2 separate regions of the Homo sapiens genome follow, and region 1 is linked to region 2. The links are contacts of gene promoters, found by promoter capture Hi-C in human tissues and cell types (Jung and others, 2019). All regions are on one chromosome and are shown on one strand. Each heading gives the region's core, a stretch centred on a gene start or on the middle of the fragment in contact. The rest is flanking DNA. Distances are from core to core; before and after follow the strand shown.

What was found. The method cuts DNA at HindIII sites, captures the fragments that hold promoters and counts their contacts. A contact is called where the count stands out against the background at its distance.
Region 1: a fragment that was not itself captured here is called in contact with the fragment with the promoter of LRIT3 in region 2 in 4 of the 25 tissues and cell types used here (mesenchymal stem cells, mesendoderm cells, spleen and 1 more).

Annotation. Positions count from the first base shown.
Region 1 is chr4:109,936,295-109,940,492 of GRCh38, forward strand. The region is part of intron 1 of EGF (epidermal growth factor); the gene reads left to right. Among named protein-coding and RNA genes, the nearest start is that of EGF, 26 kb to the left of the region's middle. The HindIII fragment of the contact is 3,806 bases long and covers 551-4,198 here.
Region 2 is chr4:109,846,654-109,850,307 of GRCh38, forward strand. It overlaps LRIT3 (leucine rich repeat, Ig-like and transmembrane domains 3), which reads left to right and starts at 1,454. Exons shown (of 4, transcript NM_198506.5): 1 at 1,454-1,664. The coding sequence starts at 1,549. The HindIII fragment of the contact is 6,154 bases long and covers 1-2,164 here.

The DNA of each region.
Region 1 (4,198 bases), core at 1,204-3,703, 91 kb after region 2:
ATTTATCCCTTTCTTCCAGATTTTGTAGTTTATTTGCATAGAGGTGTTTATAGTATTCTCTAACGGTAGTTTGTATTTCTGTGGGATCGGTGGTGATATCCCCTTTATTATTTTTTATTGTGTCTATTTGATTCTTCTCTCTTTTCTTCCTTATTAGTCTGGCTAGCAGTCTATTTTGTTAATCTTTTCAAAAAAACGAGTTCCTGGATTCATTAATTTTTTGAAGAGTTTTTCATATCTCTATCTCCTTCAGTTCTGCTCTGATCTTAGTTATTTCTTGTCTTCTAACTTTTGAATTTGTTTGCTCTTGCTTCACTAGTTCTTTTAATTGTTATGTTAAGGTGTCGATTTTGGATATTTCTTGCTTTCTCCTGTGGGCATTTAGTGTATACATTTCCGTATAAACACTGCTTTAGCTGTGTCTCAGAGATTCTGGTACATTGTGTCTTTGTTCTCATTGGTTTCCAATAACTTATTTATTTCTCCCTTAATTTCGTTATTTACCCAGTAGTCATTCAGGAGAAGGTTGCTCAGTTTCCATGTAGTTGTGGGGTTTTGAGTGAGTTTCTTAATCCTGAGTTCCAATTTGATTGGACTGTGGTCTGAGAGACTGTTACAATTTCTGTTCTTTTGCATTTGCTGAGGAGTGTTTTACTTCCAATTACGTGTTCAATTTTAGAATAAGTGTGATGTGATGCTGAGAAGAATGTGTATTCTGTTGATTTGGGGTGGAGAGTTCTGTAGATGTCTATTAGGTCTGCTTGGTCCAGAGCTGAGTTCAAGTCTTGAATATCCTTGTTAATTTTCTTTCTCGTTGGTCTAATATTGACAGTGGGGTGTTATTGTCTCCCACTTTTATTGTGTGGGAGTCTAAGTCTCTTTGTAGGTCTCTAAGAACTTGCTTTATGAATCTGGGTGCTCCTGTATTGGGTGTACATATAATTAGGCTACTTAGTTCTTCTTGCTGCATTGATCCCTTTACCATTATGTAATGGTCTTCTTTGTCTCTTTTGATCTTTGTTTCTCTAAAGTCTGTTTATCAAAGACCAGGATTGCAATCCCTGCTTTTTTTTTTTTTTTGCTTTCCATTAGCTTGGTAGATCTTCCTCCATCCCTTTATTTTGAGCCTATGTGAGTCTTTGCACATGAGATGGGCCTCCTGAAACCAGCACACTGATGGTCTTGACTCTTTATCCAATTTGCCAGTCTGTGTCTTTTAATTGGGGCATTTAGCCCATTTACATTTAAGGTTAATATTGTTATATGTGAATTTGATCCTGTCATTATGGTGCTAGCTGGTTTCTTCATAGCGTCCATGGTCTTTACCATTTGACATGTTTTTGCAGTGGCTGGTACCGGTTCTTCCTTTCCATATTTAGTGCTTCTTTCGGGAGCTCTTGTAAGGCAGGCCTGGTGGTGACAAAATCTCTCAGCATTTGCTTGTCTTTAAAGGATTTTATTTCTCCTTCACTTATGAAGCTTAGTTTGTCTGGATATGAAATTTTGGGTTGAAAATTCTTTTCTTTAAGAATGTTGAATATTGGCCCCCACTCTCTTCTGGCTGTAGGATTTCTGCAGAGAGATCTGCTGTTAGTCTGATGGGCTTCCCTTTGTGGGTAACTCGACCTTTCTCTCTGGCTGCCCTTAACATTTTTTCCTTCATTTCAACCTTGGTGAATCTGAAAATTATGTGTCTTGGGGTTGCTCTTCTCGAGGAGTATCTTTGGGGGTGTTCTCTGTATTTCCTGAATTTGAATGTTGGCCTGCCTTGCTAGGTTGGAGATATTCTCCTGGATAATATGCCGAAGAGTGTTTTCTAACTTGGTTCCATTCTCCCCGTCACTTTCAGGTACACCAATCAAATGTAGATTTGGTCTTTTCACATAGTTCCATATTTCTTTGAGGCTTTGTTTGTTTCTTTTCACTCTTTTTTCTCTAATCTTGTCTTCTTGCTTTATTTCATTAATTTGATCTTCAATTGCTGACATCCTTTCTTCCGCTCGATTGAATTGACTATTGAAGCTTGTGCATGTGTCACGAAGTTCCTGTGCTGTGGTTTTCAGCTACATCAGGTCATTTAAGCTCTTCTCTACACTGTTGATTCTAGTTATCCATTTGTCTCACCTTTTTTCAAGGTTTTTAGCTTCCTTGCGATGGGTTAGAACATGCTCCTTTAGCTCGGAGAAGTTTGTTATTACTGATCTTCTGAAGCCTACTTCTGTCACCTTGTCAAACTCATTCTTTGTCCAGTTTTGTTCCCTTGCTGGCAAGGAATTGTGTTCCTTTGGAAAAGAAGAGGCAATCTGGTTTTTGGAATTTTCAGCCTTTTTGCTCTGGTTTCTTCCCATCTTAGCGGTTTTATCTACCTTTGGTCTTTGATGCTGGTGACCTACGGATGGGGTTTTGATGTGGATGTCTTTTCTGTTGATGTTGATGCTATTCATTTCTGTTTGTTAGTTTTCCTTCTAACAGACAGGCCACTCAGCTGCAGATCTGTTGGAGTTTGCTGGAGGTCCACTTTAGACCTTGTTTGCCTGGGTATCACCAGTGGAGGCTACAGAAGAGCAAATATTGCTGCCTGATTCTTCCTCTGGAAGCTTTGTCCCAGAGGGGCACTTGCCTGTATGAGGTGTCTGTTGGCCCCTACTAGGAGGTGTCTCCCAGTGAGGCTACACAGGCTCAGGGACCCACTTGAGGAGGCAGTGTGTCTGTTAATGGATCTCAAACGCTGTGCTGGGAGAACCACTGCTCTCTTCAGAGTTGTCAGGCAGGGATGTTTAAGTCTGTAGAAGCTGTCTGCTGCCTTTTGTTCAGATATGCCCTGCCTCCAGAGGTGGAATCTAAAGGGGCAGTAGGCCTTGTTGAGCTGCGTTGGGCTCTGCCCAGTTCGAGCTTCCCTGCCTCTTTGTTTACACTGTGAGCATAGCACTACCTACTCAAGCCTCAGCAATGGTGGCATCCCTCCCTCCACCAAGCTTTAGCATCCCAGATCGATCTCAGACTGCTGCGCTAGCAGTGAGCAAGGCTCCATGGGTATGGGACCAGCTGAGCCAGGCAGGGGAGGGAACATCCGGGCCTGCTGGTTGCAAAGACCGTGGGAAAAGCGCAGTATTTGGACAAAAGTGTACAGTTCCTCCAGTTACAGGCACTCACAACTTCCCTTGGCTAGGAAAGGGAAATCCCCTGACCCCTTGCACTTCCCACATGAGGCAACACCCCACCCTGCTTCGGCTGGCCCTCCGTGGGCTGCACCCACTGTCCAACCAGTCCCAGTGGGATGAACCAGGTACCTCAGTTGGAAATGCAGAAATCACCCATCTTCTGTGTCAATCTTGCTGGGAGCTGTAGACCTGAGTTGTTCCTATTCGGCCATCTTGGAAGCGCCAACCCTCTTGTAGCTTTAATTCAACGTACTCTCCAAAGTGGAGTTAGTGTTTTCTGACTCTAGAACATAGTCCCTGAGTAAAAGGATGTTAACCCATCATTTTGTTCAATGCTTACAATAAACACATTTATTAAGTCATATTAAAGTATTACTTTTGATGATAAAACAGAATGGAGTAAGCCCAGCACAGAAGCAAGAATATGTTAGAATTCCCCTCCATTCCCCACTTACCCCAGTGATTCTGTCATTTTCTAAAGGCAGAGTGGCCCAAGCCTCCTCACACTTGGTCAAGAGAGAGAGACCAAGAAAACTAACTTGACTTGATGTAACTAATTTCATCCTCTGGTGTCATCTCAGAGCATCACAGGCAAGCTGTGTGTGGAGTCTGTCAGTAATTAGTGGTGAGGTTTCCCAAGAAGGGATCAGGTTCCCAAGTAGATATTGAATATTGGGGCATCAGAGTTGGTAGGTGGCCATCACCTAGAACAGGAGAGGACCCCAGGTACAGGATTAGGGTACCAAGCAAGGCCCTACAGGCACCAAGAAATCTAGTGAGGTTTGCCACCCAGATTTAGCAAATAAAAATGCAAAGTGCCCAGTCAAATTTGAATTTCAGGTAAATAGAGAACAAATTTTTAGTGTATGTCCCATGCAATATATGTGGAATTCAAATTTATTTGGGCATCCTGTATTTATGTGGTAAAGATAACAGGGTCAAAATATTTCAGAACCTTTACAGGATTCTGAAATTGAAACAGCATTTCAATTTTTCCTGCTTCCGTCTAAGACCTTTTAGTTTTCACCGTCGTCTTC
Region 2 (3,654 bases), core at 204-2,703:
TGAGAGTAAGCTCTCCATAGGGAATCTAAGGGTTTCCTTGATAACTTCATCCCCGCTTATCTCTCCAGCTTTATCTTTTTTAACTTCCTGCCTCAAAATCTTATGCCTGAGCAACAAGAAGTGCTTGAAATTCTCTGAGGACAATACACTGTTTCTCACTTCCCTCCCTTTGTTCCCACTATTCCCTTTGCTTGCAATGCAACTTTCTGGATTTTCCCATAATACATCGTCATGCACCCTGTAAAAGGCAGCCAGGCACCACCCACCCTAGGAAGTCTTGCTTGACTAACACAGGCTGGGTTTGATGCTCTTTTCTCGTGCTTCTTTAGTAGTCTGTTCCTCCCTTTATCGTGTGAGTTCCTTATGTGTAATAACTGTCTTATTTATCTTTGTACCCCTCAATGCTCAGCAGAGAATAAGTACTCAGTAAATATTTGATGAACAAACGAGTTGTGCAGAATCTGAAAACCTGCAGTATTTTATTTTAATTGAGCACAGTTTTTCAGACTGTATGGTTTTTATATACATTCTATTGGTTTTAAATAACATTTTCTATAATATGCTTATTTTTATAGAATTAATTTTCTTTTAAAAAGGTTTTTAGTTAAAGAGGATGGTTAGAAGCAGCCACTAAGAAGGTTAAATGACGTATATTTATTACTTAAATCCTTGATTGTCCCTGTGGATTCTCCACTCTATGAGTGTGGAGATACTTTTAAATTTAATTACATTTAATTTTTATTTTCTGACAGAGCCTAATATAGCTGAAAGAATTAGAGTTGATCTTCAAATATGGCTTTGATGCTGATAACTTGGGAAACTATTGAACAGAGATAGTTGCCTGCATTAAAAATAAATGTGCTGGGATAAACCTTCCACACACTGAGATGACCTGGAAGAGTCTCAGAACACGTTCTTATTGGAGAACTTAGTCCTGCCACATCAGTAGTGGATTGAAGCATTTTCCCTATAAAATCTGTGTAACTGACTTGTTTTACTTTACTTTTAGAGATAGCCAGTATGTGGCAACATCGATAACTCTTTTCTAAATCATTTTTATGTCATGTGCTTCTATTTTTAAAACTAAATTTTGTAAAACTGAATTAGTAACACATTCTGGCAAAAACCAAATGCAAAACATTTTATAATGTTGTAACATGTAAATAATCTACAGAATTTTCTTGCATCTGCCAAGACTGAATTATTTTACATTAAGTATATTTTTAAGGTGTAGTGGCAAGTACATCCAGAAGAAAGGGATTTAATAGGCATTTTCTTGCAAATCTAGTTACGGGTAACTATTGAAATTGCTTGTCATGTGTTTGATTTTCATTTTCCTTAGAATGTGTTACTTTGCTGAAACTGTATTCAAAGGCTGGATCAATTGATCTCCTGCAAGATACACTTGAAGGTTAAGTAACTACAGATCTCAGCTAATCCCGTGTAATCTGCTGTTACTAAATGGCTGTTTGTATTCCAGGCATACCAGGTTCTGAATGCTTAGGATTCGGTTTTTACCTTTTGTTTAAATAACCTCTAAAAGGAGCAATGCATCTCTTTGCATGTCTGTGCATTGTCCTTAGCTTTTTGGAAGGAGTGGGCTGTTTGTGTCCTTCACAGTGCACCTGTGATTATCACGGCAGAAATGACGGCTCAGGATCAAGGTATGCTCCTCTGCTTGTTACTAAGTGTTCTCATTATTTTGACAAAAAGGACCCAAACAAGAAAGCCTACTTTTGAAAGCAAATGTTTGGGGATCAGAAATCACAGAAGAGAATGTTTAGTGTCCATAAGCTTTAACTTAATTGTTTTAACACTGGTCACCTACTCCTTCACTGTTTTCGTTTTGAGCAGTTTAACTCTCAAAGGCCTCTCAAGGTATTGGAAATTTCTAAACACATTCTATGTTCCAAAATTTTTATTATGCTCATGTTCACAAATTGTTGCTTGAGATCAAACGATTTAAAGGTGCATGGCCAGCTAAGCCCTTGATTATAGAAAGGCTAAGAGGGCAGGCTGAACAGGAGCTGCGTGACATGCTCAGATCCTTTGCTTTCATGGCTCTCCACTTCCTTTGAGAACTATTCATGCCAATTGAATGGCAGAAAGAAAGATCTCAAGAGTGAAGTTAGAGAGGTTAATAGTTAGAATTTTTCATTTTAAGCTGATGGAATTTACAAAATAAAGAAGATTGAAAAAGATACTGTCTGTTTCAGACACTGCAGGATCTCACAGAAGTTATTCAATCTCTAGGTTGCTTTAGCATCTACTTGTGTAGTGAGAAGAGTTATTTACTTATATTGTGCATGAGGCCTTTTAGATATGTTAAATGCAAAACAGAACTCTTGCTAGCTAAACACAGTAGAACTTGAATTTTTTTTTTGAGAGGTTATTTAATAACAAAATCAGGTTATTTGTGACTTGGTTGAAGTAAACGGTGTCTCAGATAAAATAATTTGTTAAAAGAGTTGCCCAATTTATGTCTTATAACTTTAAACAAATAAATAATAATAAATAAGACATATTTGTGAAAAGCTTATCTTGTTATTGTATAAACTTTAGTTAACCAATTCTTGGTATTTTTTGAGATATTCACTGGGTGGTTAAAGACAATGAAGAGAATGTAGCAAGTTAAAGACCTACTTGTCCAGGGACGTGTAGCAGTGAAGGATCAGGCCAGGGTACTTTTGAGAAACTATCACAGAAATGTTTCCTTCTTTGTGGTGACCCCATTATTGATGGATTTTATAAAAATTATAGAATATTAGGCCTGGCAAGAAATAATCTAGTTCAACCCCTTGTCAGTTTATAAGTGAAGAAACTAAACTGTATGGAGACCAAATGACTTGTCCTAGATCATATAATTGTGTTGATGTAGTAACTAAGTTCATAAAGATGCTAGATCTTTTAGCGTACAAACTAGACTTTCTTCTATGATAGCATGCTGAGATACTTATTTTATTTATTTATTTATTTTGAGACAGAGTCTCACTTTGTCAGCCAGGCTGGAGTGCAGTGGCACAATCTCGGCTCACTGCAACCTCCATCTCCCGGGCTCAAGCAATTCTCCTGCCTCAGCCTCCCAAGGAGCTGGGATTACAGGCGTGTGCCACCATGCCCAGCTAGTTTTTGTATTTTTAGTAGAGATGGGGTTTCATCATGTTGGCCAGGCTGGTCTCAAACTCCTGACCTCAGGTAATCCACGCACCTCGGCCTCCCAAAGTGCTGGGATTACAGGCGTGAGCCACCGCACCCGGCCAATACTTTCTTAATGAGTAGAAACTGCTACCATTCTGGTATAAAGTAGTACTGAAATCTGTGATATAAAATAGAGATGAAAAGTAAGAGATATCCCTAGAGGATTTCAAAGATTCCATGAGGTCTTTTCCTGAAGTTATAGAAAGGACATAACACTACCACTACATTGCAGCTTTATGCTGCTTACGTGTGTATACATTATGAGCTGGTTTTTCAAATCCACTGATTTAATGTCATATGTTTCACTAAAGGGTTATTTTATTGTAATTATTTACTAAATTTATAGTGTGCTATAATTTAGATGATACTTTGCAAAACTTCTTATTGTTCATTTTTCATAATTCAGATGAGTATCTCATAGGAGATAAGTCTTTTTCCAGGCTAAAATGAATCTAA